Regions from separate parts of the Homo sapiens genome. Here all the other regions are linked to region 7. The links are contacts of gene promoters, found by promoter capture Hi-C in blood cells and fetal thymus (Javierre and others, 2016). All regions are on one chromosome and are shown on one strand. Each heading gives the region's core, a stretch centred on a gene start or on the middle of the fragment in contact. The rest is flanking DNA. Distances are from core to core; before and after follow the strand shown. Region 1 has its middle 4.6 kb from the start of KRT32. Region 2 holds the start of LINC00974 (long intergenic non-protein coding RNA 974). Region 3 holds the start of KRT13 (keratin 13). Region 4 has its middle 10 kb from the start of KRT14. Region 5 has its middle 3.2 kb from the start of KRT24. Region 6 has its middle 9.6 kb from the start of KRT17. Region 7 holds the start of KRTAP4-5 (keratin associated protein 4-5).

Region 1 (3,403 bases), core at 394-2,893, 320 kb after region 7:
TTCTGCAAATGCATCCCAGAACTTAAAGTAAAATTTTTAAAAAAAAGAGTGTGATGTTCCCCTTCCTGTGTCCATGTGTTCTCATTTGTTGTGGGGTGGGGGGACGGGGGAGAGATAGCATTGGGAGATATACCTAATGCTAGATGACGAGTTAGTGGGTGCAGCACACCAGCATGGCACATGTATACATATGTAACTAACCTGCACATTGTGCACATGTACCCTAAAACTTAAAGTATAATAACAATAAAGAAAGAAAGAAGGCATAGATGTTGCAGTTTTTAAATATTTGCTATTTAATGTTGTTTTATTTAAACAATGTAGATACACTGCTTTGATAAAAATAAAAATAAAATGTAAAAAAAAAAGAAATGCAGTTTTTCAGGCTCATCCCAGACTGGCTGAATCAGAAACTCTGAGGCTGGGGCTGGGATGCAGCAGCCTGTGTTTAGCATGTCCTTCAGGTGGTTTGGAGACCCACTGAGATAGAGGAAGATACAGGCATACCTCAGAGATAGTGCATGTTCAGTTCTAGACCACCACAATAAAGCAAATGTAACCATAAAGTGAGTCACACAAACTTTTTGGTTTTTCTGTGTATGTAAACATTATATTTACACTATACTATAGTCTATTAAGTGTACCATAGCATTATGGCCTAAAAACAATGTATATAACTTAATTTTAAAAATGCTTTATTGCTAAAAATGCTAAGGATCATCTGAGCCTTCAGCAAGTTATAATCTTTTTGCTGGTGGAAGGTCTTGCCTCAATGTTGATGGCTGAGGACTGATCAGGGTGATGATTGCTGCAAGTTAGTGTGGCTGTGGCAATTTCTGAAAATGAGACATCAGTGAAGTTTGCCGCATCAGTTGACTCTTCCTTTCATGAAAGATTTCCCTGTAGCATGTGATGCTGTTTGATAGCATTTTAACAGTAGAAATTCTTTCAAAACTAGGGTCAGTCCTCTCAAACCCTGCCACTGCCTTATTAACTAAATTGATGTAGTATTCCAAATCCTTTGTTGCCATTTCAGTGATGTTCACAGCATCTTCACCAGGAGTAGTTTCCATCTCAAGAAACCACTTTCTTTGTTCATGAATAAGAAGCAGTTCCTCATCCGTTCGTTTTGCCATAACATGGCAACAATTCAGTCACATCTTCAGGCTCCAATTCTAATTTTAATTCTCTTGCTGTTTCCAACACATCTATAGTTACTTCCTCTGCTGAAGTCTTAAGCCCCTCAACATCATACATGAGAGTTGGAATCAACTTCTTCCAAACTCCTGTTAATGTTGATATTTTGACCTCCTCTCTTGAATCACAAATATTGACATATAGAATAGTGAATCCTCTTCAGAAGGTTTTCAATTTACTTTGCCCAGATCCATCAGAGGAATCACTCTGTATGGCAGCTATAGCCTTATGAAATATATTTCTTAGGTAATAAGACTTGAAAGTCAAAATTAGTTTTTGATCCATGGGCTGTGGAATGGATGTTGTGTTGGCAAACACAAAAACATTAATCTCCTTGGACAGCTCCATCAGGGCTCTTGGGTGATCAGATGCATTGTCAATGAGCAGAAATATTTTGAAAGAAACCTTTTATTCTAAGCAGTAGGTCTCAACAGTGGGCTTAAAATATTCAGTAAACCATGTTATAAACAGATGCACTGTCGTCCAGGCTTTGTCGTTCCGTTTGTAGTGCACAGGCAGAAAAGATTTAGCATCATTCTTAAGTGCCCTAGGATATTCAGAATGGTAAATGAGCATTGACTTCCCACTTGAAGTCATCAGCTGCATTAGCTCCTAGCAAGAGAGTCAGCCCATCCTTTGAAGGTTTTGAAGGCAGACTCCTCCTGTCTAGCTATGAAAGATGCCGCCTCCCTAAACTTCATCATTTCTAGCTTTTTATTTAAAGGGAGAAACCTGCAACTTTTCCTTTCACTTGAACTCTTAGAAGCCACGGTAGGGTTATTAATTGGCCTAATTTCAATATTGCTGTGTCTCAGAAAATAGGTAGACCCAAAATAGGGAGAGAGATGGGGGAATGGCCAGTTGGTGGAGCCATCAGAACGCACGCAACGTTTATCAGTTAGGTTCCCCATCTTATCTGGGCATGGTTTGGTGCATCCCAGAACAATTACAACAGTAATATCAAAGATTACTGACCACAGATCACCATAACACATACAATAATGAAAAAGTTTGGCCAGCCGCAGTGGCTCACACCTGTAATCCCAGCACTTTGGGAGGCTGAGGTGGGCAGATCACTTGAGGTCAAGAGTTCGAGACCAGCCTGGCCAACATGACGAAACCCCATCTCTACTGAAATTACAAAAATTAGCCAGGCGTGGTGTGCCTGTAATCCCAGCTACTTGGGAGGCTGAGGCACGAGAATTGCTTGAACCCAGGAGGCAGAGGTTGCAGTGAGCCGAGATCACGCCACTGCACTCCAGCCTGGGCAGACAGCCAGATTCTGTCTCAAAAAAAAAGAAAAAGAAAAAATTTGTATTGTGAGAATTACCAAAATGTGACACAGAGACACATAAGCACATGCTGTTGGAAAAATTAGCACCAACAGACTTGCTCTAGGCAGGATTGGCACAAAACTTTAATTTGTAAAAAAAAAAAAAAAAAAAGAAAGAAAAAAGAAAAAAAAACGATATCTGGGAAGTATAATAAATTGAAACTCAATAAATCGAAGTGTGCCTGCATATATTTTAACAGCTGTCACCAGAATTCATCTTGCAGGAAAAAAAATGTCTTTACTTGGGAAACTACATTAAGAAGATCTTGGGTTAAAAGGTGGGACCCTAATGCCTTGATTTGGCTGGTAAGACATCAGAGGGTGAAAGGAGAGAAGGATTTGAAGTTCACAGGACAATCCTGGAAGGAAGGAATGAGGAGGAGAGAGACAGGAACCAGGAGCAGGGGCTCCAGGATGATGCTGAGAGGCTGTCGCTGTGAGGTGCAGTCCCAAATGCCAGCGTGAGCAGAGTTTTCCGTTGTGAAGGAAAGACCAGGTTTCATATAAAAGCAGATTGAGGCCAGGTGCAGTGGCTCACACCTATAATCCCAGCACTTTGGGATGCCCAGGCGGGCAGATCACGAGGTCAGGAGATCAAGACCATCCTGGCTAACACGGTGAAACCCCGTCTCTACTAAAAATGCAAAAAAATTAGCTGGGCTTGGTGGCGAGCACCTGTAGTCCCAGCTACTTGGGAGGCTGAGGCAGGAGAATGGCGTGAACCCGGGAGGAAGAGCTTGCAGTGAGCCGAGATTGCGCCAGTGTACTCCAGCCTGGGCCACAGAGCGAGACTCCGTCTCAAAAAAAAAAAAAGAGCGGATTGATAAAGGTAGTAGCAGCAGCATCCAAAGTCACAGAAGACCACAGTTCCAG
Region 2 (3,572 bases), core at 763-3,262, 410 kb after region 7:
CAGTGAAGATCTGTTGAATGAATGAATGAATGAATGAATGAATGAATGACTTGAAGAGGGGATGAAAATAGACAGGAACTCCAATACGAGATTTTCAAAAACAGGCAGGTGAGGACCCACCAGGCCTTACCTCTCCTCACGATCTTTTAACTTCTTGTCGTACTATTTCTCCTGGGTTTTATTTTGTTGTTGTTGCATCATTTCTTGAACTTTCTTTCTGGTTTCACAAGAATTCCCTCAGACAATCCCAGTGGATCTCAGTCTAGTAAGAGGAACAGAGAAAGGAACTGATTTTATTCCTGTTTGGGCCTGAGATGGGGAGTGCTTCAGAGCCTGAAGCCAAGAGGCTGCAGCAGCAGCAGCAGCCTCCACAACCAAGCAGGACACTCCAAGGGGCGGGGACTCGAGATCAAAGCTCTAGAGATTTGGGTAGATATTTGCGGACTGTTAGAATGATATGAATAATAATAGAGACCCTCCTCTGTCATCCTCCTCCCTGCACCGTTTGCTCATTCACCCATTCCTTCCTTTGACAAGCACAGACCCAGGGCCTTCTAGGGGGAATCTGAGATCCCAGGAAAGAATCTACCTGTGCCAGGTCACTCGTCTTATTCTCAGCTCTTCATACAGTCATTGCTTCCCACGTAAGCCTTTTTTCTTTCCTTTTTTTTTCTTTTCTTTTTCTTTTTTTTTTTTTAATTTAGAGACAGTCTCATTCTGTTGCCCTGGCTGGAGTACAGTGGTATGATCATGGTTCACAGCAGCCTCAAACTTCTGGGCTCAAGTGATCCTCCCACCTCAGCCTCCCAAGTAACCCAGTAATTAGGACAACAGGTGCATGCCACCATGCCTGTCCAATATTTTTTTCTTTTTTTGGTAGATGCGGGGTCTTGCTCTGTTGCCCAGGCTGATCTCAAATTTCTGGCTTCAAGTGATCCTCCTACCTCAGCCTCTCAAAGTGCTGGGAATACAGACATGAGCCGCCACACCCAGCCCACATAAGGTATTTTTGACAAGCCTCTGCTTATGGGATTTGCTAGCCTCTGTATTCTTTTGGGGCTCAATAATTGCTCAAGGCCATAGAGAACAGGAAACAGAGCACCAGCTTTGGAGCCAGGCCAAACTGGAATTATATCTTTGCTTGATCATTTACAAGCTATGTGACCTTGGACAAGTTACTTAACCTCTCTAACTTAGAATTTCCTCATCTATAAAATGGGCTTCATAATCCCAGTGTCCTTGGATCAGACTTCCTAGATTCAGTTCCTGTCTCCACTGCTTAGGAGCTGTGTGACCTTTTCAGCAAGTCATTTAATCTCGCTAAAAATGTTTCCTCATGTGTAAAATGAAAACAAGGACAGCATCATGAGATTGCTGTGAAGATTAGATACAGGGTTTATTCCCTTATCTTATATAAAATGCTTAGCGAAGTGCCTGGAACATTATTAAGTGCGCAATCAGTGTTAGTCCTTGCTCCTTCCTTGTGGACAATTGTTCTTACACTTAGTCGCCCAGCTCCTTTGTAAAGGAATTCTCCCTCTAGTGTCTGTGCCTCCTGGCTATAGAAGCCAGAAATTAGCCTTCCAGCCTCCCTTGCAGCTGGAGCACAGACACATGATCAGTCACACACATCACAGAAGCCTGTAAGCTGGGAGCTAATGTCCTAAAAAAGGAGGCACCTGGTGGAATCCATGCTGGAAGGAATAACTGCAGACCTCCAGTTTCTAGAAGCAGCAGCGCCACAAGTTTGGTGATAGCGCCAAGTGGAATGGGCTACTGAATCTGCACCTGCAGATAGTGGCAAGGGTGGGCTTGCTCCGGGCTGTGCTGCCTTCAAACCTGTTCCCTGCGAGTTCTTCCTGGAGAGTCTATGGCTTACCTAACATCCTTTAACAAACTGGCTTCAGAGTGTGGCTTCTGATCTTTGCAGGCAAAAACCCTGATGGCTACAGAATTTAGTAACAAGTGTGATTACTGGCATGAGACTTCTAAAAGATCTCCGTTTGGGTGTCCAAAAGACAATGTAAATTTAGCATGTCTGAAACTGACTCCCCATCTTTCATACCAGCCAACTTCCATCCCACAACTCCTATCATCCAGTTGCTCAGACAAAAGACTCAGAGACCTCCTTGACTTCTTTCTTTTACAATATGCAGTCCTTCAAGAACTCCTGGCAGTGCTTTCTTCAGATGATGCTCAGAATCCAGCCACCTCTGACCGTCTTCACTCTGAGTGCCAGGGGCTCTTCACCTCCCTGCACACTGGGCTCTCTGTTTCTGCTCCTAGCCTCGCAGCCTCTCATCAAGTGGCCTGTCACTCCTCTGCTCAAGGCACTGTGTGTTAGGATGATCATCAGCACTAGCTGCTGTGCCTGGAGTGGTCCCCACACACGCTTGACTGCCTCCCTCACTCCGTCAAGTTGATACAGAAGGGCTGGGCTCCTGGCTAAACCCTACCCTTAAGCCTGGAACCTCGGCCCTAAAGGACCCCATTTTCCCCAAAAATGTTACCTTTTTGGCCTGCCTGCCCACATGCTGTGCCCATAAAAGACTTCAGCTGGCAGAGCAACACAAGCGGCTGAGCACTGAGGATATAAGCAGCTGAGCGGCGAGCAGAAAAGCAACTGAGCATCGGAGACTGTGGATAGATCTGGCTAACTTCAGATGGTGCAGCTTTGGAGAGGGGCCCTGCCGGAGACGGTGGGGCTTCAGGGAAAGATCACCATCCCATCACCTTTCCATCCTCCCTTTCCACTGAGAGCCACCCAACACCCAGTAAAGTATTTTGCATTCGTCACCTTTCAAACAGTTTATGTGACCTGATTCTTCTTCCTGGACGCCAGACAAGAACCTGGGTGCCAAGAAGGCAGGGGCTGCCACCCTGAACCTCCATTGAACTGGTTGGTATTTGGCCATCCCCTGACAGCACAGCTGAAAGAATAGGGACGCTGCTGCAGGGCCCGAACAGAGCCTGCTCCTGCCAGAGAGGAGCAACCGGCTGGTTCCAGCGTTCATTTGCTCCGGTTCCCACACTTGCTCACACACTCACTCCCACAAGGAGTGGCCAGCAACAGGCTGAGTGAAACAAAGTGCTCCTTAGCTGGGCGTGATGGTGTGTGCCTGTAATCCCAACATAAGAAACCCCATCTCTACTAAAAATACAAAATTAGACGGGCTTGGTGGCCCGTGCCTGTAATCCCAGCGACTCGGGAGGCTGAGGCAGGAGAATCACTTGAACCCGGGAGACGGAGGTTGCAGTGACCTGAAATCTCACCACTGCACTCCAGCCTGGGCAACAGGGCGAGACTCAGTCTCAAAAAAAAACAAAACAAAAACAAAAAACAAAGTGCTCCAGTTCCCGCCCATGAAGGGCGTCAGGGCAACTATTCCATCGCAAAGTCATTGCTTATGTTTTACCTTCTCAGTGAACCCAACCTTGGCCATCCTATTTAACATTGCTCTCCTCCCCACCCTGCCATAGCACTCCAATCTCCCTTGATATTCCCTACTTCTTTGCGCACTTACCACCTTCAAGTATAGTATTATTTATTTCTTTATTACATTTGTTGCTCT
Region 3 (3,198 bases), core at 346-2,845, 350 kb after region 7:
AGGTCCCACAGTGGAGGACTGTGTCCAGTTGCAGGGGAGGGCTCCTCCTTCTCACTGGAGGTTGTTGAGCCCAGGGCAGCCTGCAATTCCCGCTCACCTCTTCATGGTTCTTCTTCATGTAGGCTAGCTCTTCATTCAGGCTCTCGATCTGCATCTCCAGGTCAGTCTTAGACAGAGTGAGCTCATCCAGCACCCGGCGCAGGCCGTTGATGTCGGCCTCCACGCTCTGGCGCAGGGCCAGCTCATTCTCATACCTAAAATAGTAAAAAAATGAAATGTTTTTTGAAAAAGCAAGACATAAATGATATGAGACATTCTCCCTACCCCTGCACGAGACTCCAGTACTTCCAGACCTTCACTCCTGGGATGCTCCAGTGTCATTGGTCAGATGAGCTTTTGTCTAAACTAAGAGACTCCTGGGAAAGGAGAGGGAGGGGGAAAAAAAAAACTCACTTGAGCCTGAAGTCGTCCGCAGCCAGCCTGGCATTGTCAATCTCCAGGATGACCCGGTTGTTTTCAATGGTGGCGGTCAGGATCTACAAAATGCAGAAGAAGGTAACCTCTAGGGCATGGGTGTCCAGTCTGTTGGCTTCCCTGGGCCACATTGGAAGAAGAATTGTCTTGGGCAACACATCAAATACGCTAACACTAACGATAGCTGATGGGCTAAAAAGAAATTGGCAAAAATAAAAAATAAAAAAAAACTCAATGTTTTAAGAAAGCTTACAAATTTGTGTTAGGCCTCAATCAAAGCTGTCCTGGGCCACATGCAGCCCACCGGCCACAGGTTAGACAAGCTTGCTCTGGGGGGTCCACGTGCTTGAGGAGGTGGCCTGGGAAAACATGGGCAGGACCTGGTTCCCATGGGGCTCTACCTCTAAACTGTCCTGTGAGCTGGGACAAGGCATTTCCCTCTGGGCCTCCATTGCTCTTCTGTAAAGTGAGGAGTGGGGCTGCATCCCCTCCAATCGTTTCTAACACTTTAATATTCCATGTCTGAGCACCCTGGGGGAGATGCAGGGAGTGCATTTCTGAGGAACGACCTGCTGAGAACATCTTTGGTTCGTCATGTCTTGGCAGCCTCAGACTAGCACCCTCCCTAGGCCACTGTCTTGAGATCCATCCCCTGAAAGTCAGGAGGGACTCGGCTTGGTGCCACATATCTCACAATCACTTTGCTAGAGCTGACTTCCCAGCTGAGTGGAGGGGAAATCCAACAAATATTCCCATCCCTTTGAATTTCTTGTCTAAACGTTTATATTCCAAAGCAGTGAAAGCCTGCTCCACATGGCTGAGACTCAGCCCAGGCTGGTAGATTTCTGCTCCAACAGGCTGGTATCACAGCACAACAGACAGGGCTCAACAAAGGGCACCCAGGCTCGGCACTGCCTAAGCCTCTGCCTCTCTCTCCCCCAACTTGGCCATCGCCAGTTGAGAATACCAGTTTGAATGGGTCCCCTACAAAGTAAACAATTATTCCCAGGGCAATGAATGAACACGTCTCTCTTTCTCTGTTGATTTCATGCATTCTTAATGGCTTTTAAACCTGTCATGTTTCCAGATAACTCAGTAGGTTAGGATTATAGAGATCGAGTCATGAATAACATAACTGTCTGGAAAGCAGTAAAAAAACTGACCTGAGTAATAACAATCATAAAAATGAATAATGAGAGAAAATGCATTTGGGGAGTTGTGGCATGAGAAAGCCCATCAGAGGTAGAGACTCTTGGTAGTCAAACAGTAGGCTTTTCCCCTGCAAGAAGTTTGTGAATTCCGTCCACACCTAGTCCCCCACAACACTGTGTTTCTTGGCCTTGGAGGCTCTGCCCTTCATGGAGGACCCCTCCTCAGCTTCCAAGGGCTCACCTTGTCCCGGAGCTCTTCAATGGTCTTGTAGTAGGGGCTGTAGTCCCGCTCAGGGCTAGCTGGGCTCTGCTTCAGGTGCCAGTCACGGATCTTCACCTCCAGGTCAGCGTTGGCCTCCTCCAGGGCGCGCACCTTCTCCAGGTAGGAAGCCAGGCGGTCGTTGAGGTTCTGCATGGTGATCTTCTCATTGCCAGTGAGGAGGCCGCCATCACAAGCACCAAAGTCAACAAAGCCACCAGCAAAACCCCCACCAAAGCCACCTCCAAGGCCACCTCCATAGCCACCTCCAAGGCCACCTCCATAGCCACCTCCAAAGCCACTACCAGCCCCTCCACCAAAACCACAGCTCACGCCGCCTCCATAGCCCCCAGCTGATCCCCCGGACACAAACCGAGTTGAACAGGTAGAGACACCACGGCCTCCTCCCAGCTGGCAAGAGCCACCCCCGAAACCACCTCCATAGCTGGCAGAGGAGCTCTGCAGGCGGAGGCTCATGGTGAGAGCAGGATTGAGAGCAGGTGCAGATAGAAGCTTGCTTGGCCTGGGCCGAGGACTGTGGCTCTTCCCCAGAGTGGACACCTTTTATACACCTCCATAGGGGCTGGTTATCTTCTCTCCTCCCTTCCCCACCCTCTGACTTGGTGCCAACTACACTTCTGTTTCCCACAAGCTTAGTTATCTCTGATCTCTCCAGGGTGGGTTGTGCCTTTTGGGGGTGGCTTTTTTTTTAATCCTTAACAAAAAGAATGATTCAGAGGGGACAGCATTCTGCCTGAGACTGCCCTTTTGACAAGTGAATTCTGTTTCACCTCCACTTAAGGAGTTCACTGTGCAGGCTCTGAGCCCCACCCAGTATTAGAACGGGACCTGAGATGCGGAGGCCTGCCAGGAGCTTCTGCGAGGAAAGTGGTGGGTGCAGAGTGGCTCTGTGCTTTGCAAGGTCACCGTAGCCCTCGACCTTCCTTTTTTCTATACCTAAAACTTCTGACTGGGATGTCCTGGATCCTTCTTAGCACTTCATCTACTCCAGGGGCCCCAGCAACTCTGATGACAAACTTTGCTTGGTTCGATAGAATCACCTGCCTTGAAAGTATTTAGACTGAGAAAGAAATAGCTCCGAGGCCATCAGAAAAAGTCACAGTGACAGAGACCTTAAGGGATCTTAGGGACCATCAGACACAGCTGTGGAAACTCAGGCATGGAAAGAGGAAGTGGCCCTGTCCATTATCATAGCGAATATTCTCCGAGCCCTCACCATAGGCAGGAACTGGGTGAAGTTACTTTACACTCATCATCTCATTTAACCTTCACAGCAGCCACAGGAGGAGGGTC
Region 4 (3,172 bases), core at 273-2,772, 450 kb after region 7:
ATATCCAGGTAAGGGATGTTGTTGGCTCAGACCTCTCCTCTCCCAGGAAGCCCCACCCCATCAGCTCAGGTCACCTGGCTTTCTCCCCATCTCTCAGACCTCCCACTGCCTCTGTGATCTGTGCCCCCACCCTTGATTATACCTCCCCATAGTGCCTTAGGGGGCCACAAAGTGTTTTTCACATAGTCAGTCCTCAGTGTTACTCTGGTCTGATGCAGGAGACACAACCCTTGCCCGTGGGCTGTCCAGTCTGATGGAGGAGGGTTGCAGAGCCCAGAGTTTTCCCTGTGCCATAGGCTGAGGGGAGCCAGGAGCACAGGAGCCACAAGGTGGGGTGGATTAGCACACAGAAGTTTTCTTGGAAAGGGTGCGCTTTGACTCAGGTTTTGAAAGAAGGAAGAACCCTGGAGGGTGGAGTGGGGAGAGGGCGTGGCTGTGGGAACTCCAGCACAGTGGTGAGTTGCGGGGAGAGTCAGCACCTGGGAGTCGGAATGTCTGTGTCAGGAGTCCTGAGCTCTGGTCGGCAGGACAGAGGGAAAGGGAAAGAGGAAGGGAAGGGGTCGCCGAGTAGTTCTAGCCTCATGGATAGAAAGAGTCATTTCCCACAGTCAGAGATGTGGGAACAGATTCAGCATCTTGCACCCCACCTCCCTCCCCCAGACGGGATACCGCATGGGATCAAGGAAGGAGCAGGGCCTCCCGATCAGAAAGACCAGCTTTCAAGTCTTGGCTCCATCACTGACGAGCCATGTGACCTTGGACAGGCCATTGCAGCCGTCCAAGCTTTGGTTTTCCATCAAATAGGAATAGAACCAGTTCAGCCTGGCAGGATTATTGAGAGGAGTGGGTAAGTCAGCGCAGGTGGCCAGCATGGTACTGGGCACAGAGGAAGTGTTTGGTAAAAGTTCACTTAAATTAAGCCCAAGTTAGACCAAAGGGAGTGGGGGATGCAAATGGAGAACAGGTGTCAAGGTTCAGCCAAAGACCTTGAGGCAGAGAACAGAGAAGAGTCCAGGATGTTACTGGAGCTCCTGTTGCAGGAGCTGGGAGCTGCTGAGGTCAGCCGGCCAGGTGATGGGCTGGTGAGTCTGCAAGGGCCTGGCCAGGGTGGAGGCTGTGGGAATAGGGCAGGCCTGGAAACTGATGAGGAAGAGTCAGCGGATGGTTTAGGTGTGAGGGGAGAAGGCCTGGGAGCTTCCAGCAGGGCCCACATTCTGTGGCTGGAATGAGGGGATGGGGAAGCAGCCTCTCAGGTTTCAATGAGGCCATCCTGGTTGTCAGTGCAATATTTGCAAAAAAATGACCATTTCTGTCTCCCAGTTCCAAAAGAGGGCATGGATGGCTTATGATAAAAGACATATTTATAATAAAACTAAAAATATCCAGCAAGGATAGAAGAAAAATAAATCAAGAATTAGGTAACAGGATATATTGATGGGCACATTTTGGTTGCAAGCAACGGAAACTCAGCTTGAATTAGCTTCTAAAAGAGGCAATTCAGGGCTGGGCATGGTGGCTCACACCTGTAATTCCAGCGCTTTGGGAGGCTGAGATAGGAGGATCACTTGAGCCCAGGAGTTCAAGACAAGCCTGGGCAACATAGTGAGATACCATCTCTACAAAAATAAATAAATAAAATAATTAGCCAGGCATGGAGGCATACACCAGTAGTCCCAGCAACTCAGAAGACTGAGGTGGAAGGATTGCTTAAGCCCCAGCAGGTCAAGGCTGCAGTGAGCCATGACCACAGCACTGCACTCCAGCCTGGGTGGCAAAGTGAGACTCCATCTTAAAAAAAAAAAAAAAAAGACAATCAATAAAACAATAAATCAAGCCCCAATTTATAACATTTATTTTTTTCGTGTTGTAAATACCCCCACTGTGGCCAATTTCAAGCAACCAACAGGGAGTCACTTAACACAGGGTTGGGAAGAGACGTGCAGTAGCTCACTGCCTTATAGCATGTCCACCATATGGATAAAATGGTCATAAGTACCTCAAGAGCACAGATATTAGTACAATGTAGTAAAATAATTTGGAAGGAATGAGTTTTCAGTATGCATTACCTTTGTTCTCAATATAATTCATTTAATTTTAAGTTCGTATAATTTAATTTTTGATGAGGGCCATATTTAACAATCACCTTGCAAAATTCCTGAAATTTTAATGTCCAGCTCTCAAGAGCCAGCATGAGCCAGCTCCAGCGTGCCAATGAGCCTCGAGGTTTAGGCCATAAGCAAGAGACTAGGAGGGACAAAGGGAAAGCTTCTGGATAAAACAAAGTGAAAGAGGGAAAACCAGATTGGGGGAGGATATTGGTGAGGGAAGGGGAAGAAGAGTTGGTGGGCCCCCACGGTCAGGGAGACAGCCTAGGTGGACAGGAGCAGAGGCAGCATCCAGAGGCTGTGCAGCCTTCACAAGGCAGACCAGGCACTGTCTGCCTCCCAGGGAGCCACATGGGAGCCCCATGGGGGTATCCAAGTCTGTGCTGCCTCGTTATCTCAATTATCTCATCAGTGTTCTGTTGGTTGTTCTCTCTGTCAGCATCTAGCGAGGACTGTTCTACTGCAGCACTCAGTGTGCATCTGTCCTTTGACTGTCCCAGCTTGAGTGATGTCTGTGTGTCCCAAGACTTTGGTTACTCCCCATCTAACTTAACCCATATGAGCAACACCCCCTTCAAAGAACTGGAGGAGTGATTGGGGGAAAGGAAATGATGGTGCTGGGGGTGTTGGAGGTACTGGAGGTAGTGGTGGTGGTGGTGGTGGTGGTGGTGATGGAGATGGAGATGGTGGTAATGATGGTGGTGATTGTGGTGGTCATGGTGGTGATGGTGGTAGTGGTAATGGTGGTGATGATGTGGTGGTGGTAGTGGGGGTGGGGGTGGTGATGGTGGTAATGATGGCAGTGATTATGGTGGTGATGGCAGTGATGGTGGTAGTGGTGATGGTGGTGGTGATGGTGGTGGTGGTGGTAGTGGTGGTGGGGGTGGTGATTTCAGTGGTGGTGGTGGTGGTGGTAGTGGTGGTGGGGGTGGTGATTTCAGTGGTGGTGGTGGTGGTGGTGCAGGGGCGAGTGGTGATGGTGGGGGTGATGGTGGTGGGGCGTATTGGTGTGGTGCTGGTGATTGTGGTGGTGATGGTAGGGATGGTGGTAGTGGTGATGGTAGTGA
Region 5 (3,390 bases), core at 54-2,553, 440 kb before region 7:
TGATGAAGATGATAAGTTTATGTTATATGTATTTTACCACAATTTTTAAAAAGTCTTAAAAAACAGGTGCTTCCAGAAATAGTTTGTATCCTCCTTAGCTTTAAACTTAAGTAGCTGACTTTTGTTTATTTAAGAATTTCTTCCTTCTTTTGCCAGTCTCTGTTAAACTATGTTCACACCTTAATCTTTATATTCAATTATTTGTTAAACAATGTTCTGCTTTAAATTTTTCCTTAAATTGCATTTTATTGGGACACATGATTAAATAGGTAATCATTCACTTTACTATGTAGCTCTTATGTGGCTTTTATGATCTACCTGTACTGTTTTCACAGGAGTATGATGTTACTCTTCTTCATATTTAGGGTGACATATCTCCAAGGGGTACATGGTGTACAAAATTTTAAATTGTTAAGCTGGGAGTAATTTTTATAACGCCCTTCTAAAGTAGCTAAAAAATGCACCACACATAATGTGTTGGTCATCCTGCCTCGCCCATCCCTAAAGCTGTGAAACCAAAGAAAACTAAACCCTAATGATTAAATGGTATGCAAATGCTGGCAATGGGAGGAACAGTCACAGAGTGTTTCTCCCTTTTAAAACTATGAAATGTAATCTTTCAATTTTCATAAAGACTTGCATTTGGCTGAAAGCACGTTTAAATCCCAGCTCCTTCGGAGGCTGAAGCAGGAGAATTGCTTGAACCCGGTGGGTGGAGCTTACAGTGAGCAGAGATTGTGCCACTGCACTCCAGCCTGGGCGACAGTGCGAGACTCCATCTCAAAAAAAAAAAAAAAAAAAAGACAGAGAGAGAGAGACAGACTGAATCTTAGGTGTCTGGGCTCCCAGTTCAAATTTTGAATAGTTTGTGATTAGAAGTTTATTTCTACCTGTAAAGAAACATATAAAAGCTATATTTCCTTATAGAATATGATTTTAATAATAAGTGCAGAATGATTTGCAGATAGTAACCATCAATTTTTTTTTGTGTGTGTGGGGGATAGATTATTAGTATTTAAATATTTTTCAGATTAACATATTGCAGGTTTTTAGACTAGTAGGAAAACCAAATACTGAAATGCATGGCATATGGCTCCTGATGAATCTTTACAGAATTGAGAACAGAACTTGGGTATTCTATCTTCTGTTCATTCAAGAAAATATACTGTTTTGTGTTTTTCAAATAGAAGCATCACATCAGAGTAGTTAAGGGAAGTTGCTGGGTTTAGAGTATTTGTTGAATGTTGACAAAACTTTCTGTGGCAGACAGTAAAAAAGAAGGGAAAATATACATTTAAAAAAATTTTAACTTTTAACTTTTGTGGGTGCATAGTAGGTATATAGATTTATGGGGTACATAAGATATTTTGATATAGGTGTACATATCCCATCAGGGTAAATGGGGTACCCATCACCTCCAGCACTTATCCTTTGTGTTACAAACATTCCAATTATACTATTTTTTAGTTATTATAAATTATACAAGTAAATTATTATTGACTATAGTCACTCTGTTATACTATGAAACACTAGGTCTTATTCATTTTTCTAACTATTTTTGGTACCCATCAAGCGTCCTCACTTTTCCCCTACTCCCCCGTTTCCCTTCCCAGCCTCTGATAACCATCATTCTACTCTCTATCTTCATGAGTTCAATTGTTTGAATTTTTAGCTCCCACAAGTAAGTGAGAATACACAAAGTTTGTCTTTTTGTGCTTGGCGTATTTCACTTAACATAATGACCTCCAGTTTCATCCACGTTGTTGCAAATGACAAGATCTCATTCTTTTCATGACTGAATAGTACTCCGTTGTGTATATGTGCCACTTTTTTTTTTTTTTAAGACAGGTTTCACTCTCGTCACCCAGACTTGAGTGCAATGGCGCGATCTCGGCTCACTGCAACCTCCACCTCCTGTGTTCAAGCGATTCTCCTGCCTCAGCCTCCCGAGTAGCTGGGATTACAGGCACCCACCACCATGACCAGCTAATTTTCATATTTTCAGTAGAGACAGGGTTTCACCATGTTGGCCAGGCTGATCTTGAACTCCTGACCTCGTGATCCGCCCTCCTTGGCTTCCCAAAGTGCTGGGATTACAGGCATGAGCCACCGCGCCTGACCTGTGCCACTTTTTCTTTATCCATTCTACTGTTGATGGATGCTTAGGTTGCTTCTAAATCTTGTCAGTAGTGCTGTAATAAACATGGGAGCACAGACATCTCTTTAATATAGCAATTTTCTTTCTTTTGGACACATTGGAAAGTATAAATTTGATGTGTGAACAGTCTCTTTGCAATGCCGTTGCAATGACAGATAGTAGATAGACAATAAATATTCCTTGAATTAATAAAAACTAACATGGCCTGATTTTCTTCATGAACAACTTGGATCACTGATTACTTTTGTTCTTTACTATGTGTTGTGTTTTGTTTTCTGAATCTTTATGCTCCACTTCTGGGTTAGTGATTCTCAGTGTGTGGTGGCGGAGAGCGGGGCTTGGCAGTAAGAGGAAATGTTGTTTGGGAAGAGGGCAGAAAGGTCAGGCAAGAGTCAACCGGGGACCTTCCTGTAGGGAATCATTGTTTGGGCCAGCTTCCTGCTGGTGGCTGCTCTAGGCCCCGCCAGGGTCAACTACTTGGAAGAGAAAAAAGGTTTTGCAATAATAACATGACTAAGAGCCCACTCCAGTAGATCTGGCACCACCCGTCGATGGATTGGGTGTGTCATTGTCACACCCCAGAAATCCACCAATTCTGTGGCTGTTTCTCTTCCTTCATCACTTTCTCTCCTTCCCCACCACCCTCGTCCATTCTTTCTCTTCCTGGTTTCACTTAAGTGTGTCTATTTGAAGGCTTCCTCTTCTCCACCAGGAAGCATCTGCTTGGTCATGCCATTTTGCCAAATTTTGTTCTGGGAAGAAAAATCACCTGGCTTTGTTCTTGTATGTGAGTGCTTTCAAATCTCTTTAAATAACTCAATTCTCTATGTTTCCTGAAGATCTTTCCGTGAGTTTATGGAGAATTAAGAGAATGGGTGAGTGACTTTGCGGGGGTTGGGATGCTTTGTCCTCCAGGCTCCACAGATAAGACAGTTTGAAATAAGCACAGTTTTCAAGGATTAGCTCTGCTTAAAAAGTCCTTTTGTGCCTTTCTTCATACCAGACAGACAGTAGTCTTCTCTTCAGAGAATCCAAAAGCATGAACAATCCAGATCATAACTTGAGCAGTAGGGCCTAGCCCCTGTGCCTCTTGCCAATGCTAAGTTGATACACTGGGCCTTCCTGCTCTGTCTCTTCCAGCTTGACCCCTCAACCTCCTGCTGCCCTCTGATGTCAGAGAAGCTGCAAATCTTTGGTCAAGGAATCCAGGGCTTAAATAGTAGTTTCATAGC
Region 6 (3,510 bases), core at 317-2,816, 480 kb after region 7:
CCCTGGCCACCATACTCATCACTTGCACTCCTCACCTGCCACTGGTGGCTTTGCTCTGTAGGACCCTCCAGGGCAGGGTTTGTGCAGAAGACAAAGTGGCCATGTTTACAGAATGCCAAAGCCATGTTCTTAGAGGTCATGAGAGAGAGTGTGTGTGTATGTGTGTGTGTGTGTGGTGTGTGATGTGTGTGTGGTGTGTGGTGTGTGATGTGTGTGGTGTTTATGTGTATGTAGTATGTGTGTATGTGGTGTGTGTGGTGTGTGGTATGCATGTGGTGTGGTGTATATGTGTGTGTGGTGTGTATGTGTGTGTGAGATCTGTGTGTATTGTGTGTGTGGTGTGTATATGCGTGTGGTGTGTGTGGTGTGTGGTACATGGGTGGTTGTGGGTATATATGTGTATGGTGTGTGTGTAGTGTGTATGTGTGTGGTGCGTGTGGAATATGTGTGGCATGTGTGGTGTGGGGTGTGTGTGTGGTGTCTGTGTGTATGTGTATGTGTGTGTGGTGTGTGTGGTGAGTGTGTGTGTGATGTATCTATGGTGTGTATGGTGAGTATGTGTGTGGTGTGTGTGGTGTTTGTGTATGTGTGTGATGTGTTTGGAGTGTGTGTGTGGTGTTTGCGTGTGTCTGTGATGTATATGTGGTGTGTGCGTGATGTGTGTGTGGCGTGTATGTGTGTATGTGTATGGTCTGTGTGGTGTTTGTGTGTGTATATGTGTGTGATGTGTGTGTGCTGTGTGTCTCTGATGTGTGTGGTGTGTGTGTGGTGTGTGTGCGTGTACGTGCGCGTGTATGTGTGGTGTGTGTGGTGTGTATGTGTGTGATGTTTGTGTAGTGTGTGATGTGTATGAGTGTGTGTGTGGTGTGTGGTATGTTTGGGTGGGTGTGTATATGTGTTGGAGAGGGTGTGGGGGGTTTGGGGGGGTGTGTGACTAATATGTGTGGAGGGGGTGTTGGGGGTGTGGTGGGTATATGTGTAGGTGTGTGGTATGTGTGTGTGTATGTAGTATGTGTGTATGTGGATGTGCCTGTGAGCTATGTGTGAATGTGTATATAGGAGTCTTTTAGTGTGTGTGTATCGATCGGTGGGCATGCGCCTGTGTGTGAATCTGGGAGTGTGAGGTGTGAGTGGGGCGCGTGGCGTTTGGGGTAGTGTGTGATGTGTATGGTGTGTGGTGTTTGTGTGTGTGTACGTGTGTGCTGTGTGTGGTGTGTGTGTGGTGTTTCTGTGTGTGTATGTGTGTGATGTGTGTGGGGTGTGTGTGGTGTTTGTGTGTGTACGTGTGTGGTGTGTGTGTGGTGTTTGTGTGTATGTGTGTGATGGTGTGTGTGGTGTGTGTGGTGTTTGTGTGTGTGTATGTGTGTGTGTGGTTGTGTGTGGTGTTTGTGTGTATGTGTGTGCTGTGTGTGTGGTCAGTAAGGTTCTGCATGGTCTTTTCACCGCCCCCGCAGCAGGGCATCCGCCACGTCAACGCTGGAGCCAAAGCCCCCACCCAGGTTACAGGTGTAGCCACCGCTGTAGCCTCCCCCAAGTCCCACCAAGAAGCAGGAGGAGGTGACCGACATGTTGCCACAGCTGCTGACTCCCAGGAGGCTGGCGAAAGGCACCCCCAACACTGACAGATGACATCCAGGAGAAACCCCCGCCAGGTGTCCACAGGCCCTTGACAGAGCCAGAGGTGGAGAACTGGCAGATGCTGGTAGTGGTGACAACCAGGGTGTCCATGGGTCGGGTGAAGAGTCTGGTCTGGATGGAGACCCTGGGTAGCCCGTTACAGCCGGGCTGAAGTGGGGCTGGGACCCTGGCCCTTGAAGTTCAGGCCAAAACCCCAGGAGTGTATTTTGCCTCCTCCCACCCACCCAGGGCCTGGGGCTCAGGCTGGACATATTGAGAGCCTCCCCAAGGACCCCTCCATAGCAAGAGCCCAGCCTGAGCACCAGGGCCTCAGCGGTCTGTTCAGACACAAAGGTGGTGGCCAGGCACGGTGGCTCACGCCTGTAATCCCAGCACTTTGAGAGGCAGAGGCAGGTGAACCACCTGAGGTCAGGAGTTTGAGACCAGACTGGCCAACATAGCAAAACCCCATCTCTACTAAAAATACAAAAATTAGCTGGGCGTGGTGTCACGAACCTGTAATCCCAGCTACTCAGGAGGCTGAGGCAGGAGAATAGCTTGAACCTGGGAGGTGGAGGTTGCAGTGAGCCGAGATCACACCATTGCACTCCAGCCTGGGCAACAAGAGTAAAAATCTGTCTCAAAAAAGAAAGAAAGAAACAAAGGTGGTGCTGGTCTGTAGCCCTGGGGTAGGGTGACCCTCCATCCTCAGCCACAGTTAGGAGGCTGAGCTTATTCTTGTGGGGAGCCCGGAGAACCCAGCCCTGGGAGCCAGCACGGGCACAGGACAAGGCTGCACAGGCCAGGAGCCGGAGGCTGGCCTGGCCCCTCACCCAGCATTCCAGGGCCCTGGGGTAAGGGTGGAGAGATCGGGGCCTGACATCATTGCCCAGGTACAACGTGGCCCTGGTGGAGACTCCCAGTCAGAGGAGGCAGAATTAGCCTCTGACCTGTGGGAGCCCCACTCTCTTGGGATTCTTCCAAGTCCGCGGGGAGATACAGCCCACAGGTTCAAGGATCCCTGTGTCTGAGGGAAATAGACGTGGCCGCTGAACTGAGGGAGCTTTGGATCCAAGCCTTTCAGGAAGTCAGTTCTAGAGCCTCCGTTCCCTCGTTTGTAAAAGGGGGACCAAGTCTTGTCTCCCAAAGTCTTTGAGGGAATCTGGAGAGATAATGACGTCAGTAAGGCTCTAACAAAACAGGAAGCAGAGGTGGGGCTGGGAGCAGGGGTCTGAGGCCAAAGGGTTAGGGCAGCCTCCCTCCTCACCCGAACCTGAGCAATGTCAGTCCAGAGCAGTCCCGGAGGAGGGGAGGGCAGCCCAGGAAGGCCACAGAGGAGCAGGATCTGTGCAGGAGCCAGCGTCATGCCCCGAGGAACGGCCCCTGCAAAAGAGCAGCATGATCCGCAGGCTGGTGGCTGGCACCGCTCCACCCAACAAGGAGATTAGTATCCTAATCTCCGCGGCACTAATGATTTAGGTGCTGCCAGGACACCGGCGTCTGCACCAGGCCTGTCTGAATGTGGAGCTTCCCAGGGCAGCCAGGGCCCGCGGAACAGGAGAGGGGAGAGAAGTGCATGGGTGGCCTGGGCTCTCTGCCCGCATACGGGGACAGGGAGGGAGTTGGGTTTTCCATGTGGCCCAGAGCTCCCAGATGAGACCACACTGCTGGAAAGACTTCCTGCTCAGATAGTGGGTGGTCTCTCACGGAAAGTGCCAGCTGGGGACTGTGCCAGCTGGGAATGGCAGGAGCTATCTGGAAGAGAGCGGTTGAGCCCTGATTTTACTGCTCCCGCCCAGCCTGTGAAGGTGCTGGGCGGGGATGGGGGGAGGTTCAAAACCAAGGCTAGAGAGCAAGGTCAGACCACCATGAGCACGAGGTTAGACATCTGGA
Region 7 (3,299 bases), core at 396-2,895:
AAAGAAAATTATGCTAAGATATTATTCTAGCCCAGGGTATTGTTTCAATCATAGTAACAGCAGAAATTGTATTTATTTATTTATTTATTTATTTATTTATTTATTTATTTATTGAGACAGAGTTGCTCTGTCACCCAGGCTGGAGTGCAGTGACATGATCTCGGCTCACTGCAACCTCCTCCTCCTGGGTTCAAGTGATTCACCTGCTTCAGCCTCCCAAGTAGCTGGGACTACAGGTGTGCACCAACACGCCCAACTAATTTTTGTACTTTCAGTAGAGAAGGGATTTCACTATGTTGCCCACACTGGTCTCGAATTCCTGGCCTCAAGTGTTCCACCCACTCAGCCTCCCAAAGTGCTGGGATTGCAAATGTGAGCCACCACGCTCGGCCAGAAACTGTATCCATTAAGAGCCTATACTGCATTATGTACCAGGCCCTGTGGTGAGTATATTACATGGGTTATGTCTCTTAACATTTAAAGAATGTAATGCATTATCTCTATTCACAGAGAAAGAAAACTGAGGCCTGAGGAGGTTAAAAAACTTGCCCCATGCCACGCAACAAATACCTAGGGGAGTCGTGATTCCAATGCAGGGAACATGAATCAAGAGCCCAGGCTCTTAAACATGCTCTCCTGCATTTGAAGAGAGATGGCCCTTGATGTGAACTGACAGGTAAAGACACACACACACACACACACACACGCACAATGAGATCACTAACAAATCAGAAGATTTCAATATTAGGGAAGTGGCTGTTTATTAATACATGAAAACAATATTATATGAGATCATCACAGTTAGTGTCCCCTTCGAATGAAGACACTGCTCATCTAAAAATAACTGCATTGGGGCCTGGCATAACATATTTTAATGAATGTGATTGTCTGTCATTTCCTAGAAGAGCTGAATGTCCACTCTGAATGCCACATGAGACAAACTGGCAGGGAAGTGTTCATTTTTCCAGTGACTGGCTGGCTACAGTGCATTTTAAATGACTAATGAAGACATTCATAGTATGACAAATATCACAAGGAGACATTAGCAGCAAGAGGAGGCACAGCACAAGGGGCGGGGGCAGGTGGAGATGACACAGGTTGGGCGATAGCAAGTGGTGTGGCAGGAGACTCGGCCACAGACTGGACGCACGCAGCAGCAGGGGCGGCAGCAGCTGGATTCACAGCAAGAGGGGTGGCAGCAGCTGGAGATGCAGCAGCTGGGACGGCAGCAAGTGGGCTGGCAGCACACAGACTGGCAGCACTGGGGTCTGCAGCAGCTGGACACACAGCAGCTGGGGCAGCAGCAGGTGGTCCTGCAGCAGGTGGTCCTGCAGCAGGTGGTCTGGCAGCAGCAGGGGCGGCAGCAGCTGGATTCACAGCAATAGGGGCGGCAGCAGCTGGAGATGCAGCAGCTAGGGTGGCAGCAGGTGGGCTGGTAGCACACAGACTGGCAGCACTGGGGCTTGCAGCAGCTGGGGCGGCAGCAGGTGGTCCTGCAGCAGGTGGTCTGGCAGCAGCTGGGGCGGCAGCAGTTCTCCAGGCCACAGCTCTGCTCAGAGCTGACAGAGCCACAACAGGAGCTGACCATGGTGTCAGAGGGTGGAGGTTCTGGGTGGATTTCTAGAAGAATGAGGTTCTCAAGTTTGGAAGTGTCCTTGGGCCACAGCCTCTTATATACTGCCCAGCTGTCTTGTTGGTACTACATTTTCCTTGTTTTTGTTTACTTAATAACTAAGTGATTATCAGATTACACAATAATGTTTGCCCATTTAATGGTTTAAACTTGTTGAAAACAAAATTTTCTTGTCCGGATGTAATAAGATCTATCATGTCTGCCTTCTCTCATGATTCACACCTCGGTAGCATCTTCTAGACCACGTTCTCTTCCTCTTCCTCCACAGAGGGCTGTTCATGTGATTCCCTGCATTTGGAATTGCATTTCTTACTCTCGCTTCAGGTACCCTCTACCAAAATGGGATTTGGTCAGTCACACTTCCAGTTATGCATTCCCTCTAGTGACCAATAGCGAGGAAAACCCATCTGCTCAGTGTGGCATTCCTAGTCTGTGGGTCATTATTAAGCAATAAGCAAAGGGATAGCAATACCTGCATGTGGCCTTGGTGACCTCTACACTATTGAAATGGGTTTCCCTGAATGTTTCAAATTTTGGGTCATATTCCATATCCTTAAATTTTTATACTTGGTGTTACTAATGGGTCAGTTTCTTAAATTGATACTTTGCTCTCCTATATTTTGTGTCATGTCTCTCCAGTTAATCTATTAGATTCCGGAAGACATAGTCCCATTTTTATTCCATAACTCATTGTTTTTTTTAAATGCCTCTAACTGTCTGTTAACATAATGCAGGTGTGTGTTTTCACTTTTTAAAAAAGAAATTTGAGATAATTGTAGATTTACATACAGCTGTAACAAACAGTCCCAGGAGAGGCTGTCTGTACTTCACCCAGGCTCCCTAACACTGTGTAACACCTGTATAATACTTTTAAGAATCTATCTACCCCCACTACTGTGTCTTGCATGATGTGCTTAATATAGAAAGAACTCAAGCTCAGTGAAATTAAAAACAATTAGTTATTTTTCAGATTGACGTATAATATTGTATTTACCACATACAACATAATATTTTGAAGTATATATACATTGTGGAAGGATTAAATCTAGCTAATAAATGCATTACCTCTCATACCTATCATTTTTTTGTGGTGAGAACGCTTAATATCCATTCTTAGAATTTTTCAAGAATACAGTATGTACAATATATCATCATTAACTATAGTCACTATGCTATACAGTAGACCTCTTGAACTGATTCTTCCTGTCTAGCTACAATTATATGTCTTTTGACCAGTATCTCCTCAAGCCCCTGACTCCCTAGCCACCCCTAGCCTCTGATTATCTTCATTCTCTGCTCTACTTCTATGATATCAACTTTTTTGAGTGCGATCATGTGAGTGAGATCATGTGCTATCTGTCTTTCTATGACTGATTTACTTCACTTAGCATAATTTCCTTGAGATGTATCCATGTTGTCACAAATGACAGAACTTCCGTCTTTTTACGGCCAAATAGTATTGCACTGAGTATATACTGCATTTTCTTTATCCCCTTACTCATTGGTGGACACTTGCACTGTGTGCATATCTTGGCAATTGTGAATAGTGCTGCAATAAATCTGGACATGCAGTTATTTCTTCAACATACTAAGTTCATTTCCTGTAGATATATAAGGTACCCAGAAGTGGATTGCTGGATAATACGGTAATTCCAGTTTTAATTTT

Evidence for each region. The method cuts DNA at HindIII sites, captures the fragments that hold promoters and counts their contacts. A CHiCAGO score of 5 or more calls a contact.
Region 1: a contact is called between a fragment that was not itself captured here and the fragment with the promoter of KRTAP4-5 in region 7, in 1 of 17 cell types (naive CD8 T cells). The highest score is 5.2, in naive CD8 T cells.
Region 2: a contact is called between a fragment that was not itself captured here and the fragment with the promoter of KRTAP4-5 in region 7, in 4 of 17 cell types (total CD4 T cells, activated CD4 T cells, naive CD4 T cells and 1 more). The highest score is 6.5, in total CD4 T cells.
Region 3: a fragment that was not itself captured here is called in contact with the fragment with the promoter of KRTAP4-5 in region 7 in 4 of 17 cell types (naive CD4 T cells, naive CD8 T cells, total CD4 T cells and 1 more); the score reaches 8.1 in naive CD4 T cells.
Region 4: a fragment that was not itself captured here is called in contact with the fragment with the promoter of KRTAP4-5 in region 7 in 2 of 17 cell types (total CD4 T cells and naive CD4 T cells); the score reaches 7.3 in total CD4 T cells.
Region 5: a contact is called between a fragment that was not itself captured here and the fragment with the promoter of KRTAP4-5 in region 7, in 1 of 17 cell types (erythroblasts). The highest score is 5.7, in erythroblasts.
Region 6: a contact is called between a fragment that was not itself captured here and the fragment with the promoter of KRTAP4-5 in region 7, in 1 of 17 cell types (naive CD4 T cells). The highest score is 6.0, in naive CD4 T cells.

The regions. Positions count from the first base shown.
Region 1 is chr17:41,470,297-41,473,699 of GRCh38, forward strand. No RefSeq gene overlaps it. Among named protein-coding and RNA genes, the nearest start is that of KRT32, 4.6 kb to the left of the region's middle. The HindIII fragment of the contact is 4,488 bases long and covers 1-3,403 here.
Region 2 is chr17:41,554,150-41,557,721 of GRCh38, forward strand. LINC00974 (long intergenic non-protein coding RNA 974) reads right to left here and starts at 346. Exons shown (of 3, transcript NR_038442.1): 1 at 131-346. The HindIII fragment of the contact is 4,431 bases long and covers 1-3,572 here.
Region 3 is chr17:41,503,190-41,506,387 of GRCh38, forward strand. It overlaps KRT13 (keratin 13), which reads right to left and starts at 2,423. Exons shown (of 8, transcript NM_153490.3): 1 at 1,867-2,423; 2 at 454-536; 3 at 98-254. The coding sequence starts at 2,361. The HindIII fragment of the contact is 1,600 bases long and covers 796-2,395 here.
Region 4 is chr17:41,595,357-41,598,528 of GRCh38, forward strand. No RefSeq gene overlaps it. Among named protein-coding and RNA genes, the nearest start is that of KRT14, 10 kb to the left of the region's middle. The HindIII fragment of the contact is 1,482 bases long and covers 782-2,263 here.
Region 5 is chr17:40,705,282-40,708,671 of GRCh38, forward strand. No RefSeq gene overlaps it. Among named protein-coding and RNA genes, the nearest start is that of KRT24, 3.2 kb to the left of the region's middle. The HindIII fragment of the contact is 4,290 bases long and covers 1-3,390 here.
Region 6 is chr17:41,632,403-41,635,912 of GRCh38, forward strand. It overlaps the pseudogene KRT42P. Among named protein-coding and RNA genes, the nearest start is that of KRT17, 9.6 kb to the left of the region's middle. The HindIII fragment of the contact is 4,882 bases long and covers 1-3,510 here.
Region 7 is chr17:41,148,180-41,151,478 of GRCh38, forward strand. It overlaps KRTAP4-5 (keratin associated protein 4-5), which reads right to left and starts at 1,646. Exons shown (of 1, transcript NM_033188.4): 1 at 745-1,646. The coding sequence starts at 1,588. The coding sequence ends at 1,043. The HindIII fragment of the contact is 5,677 bases long and covers 1-3,299 here.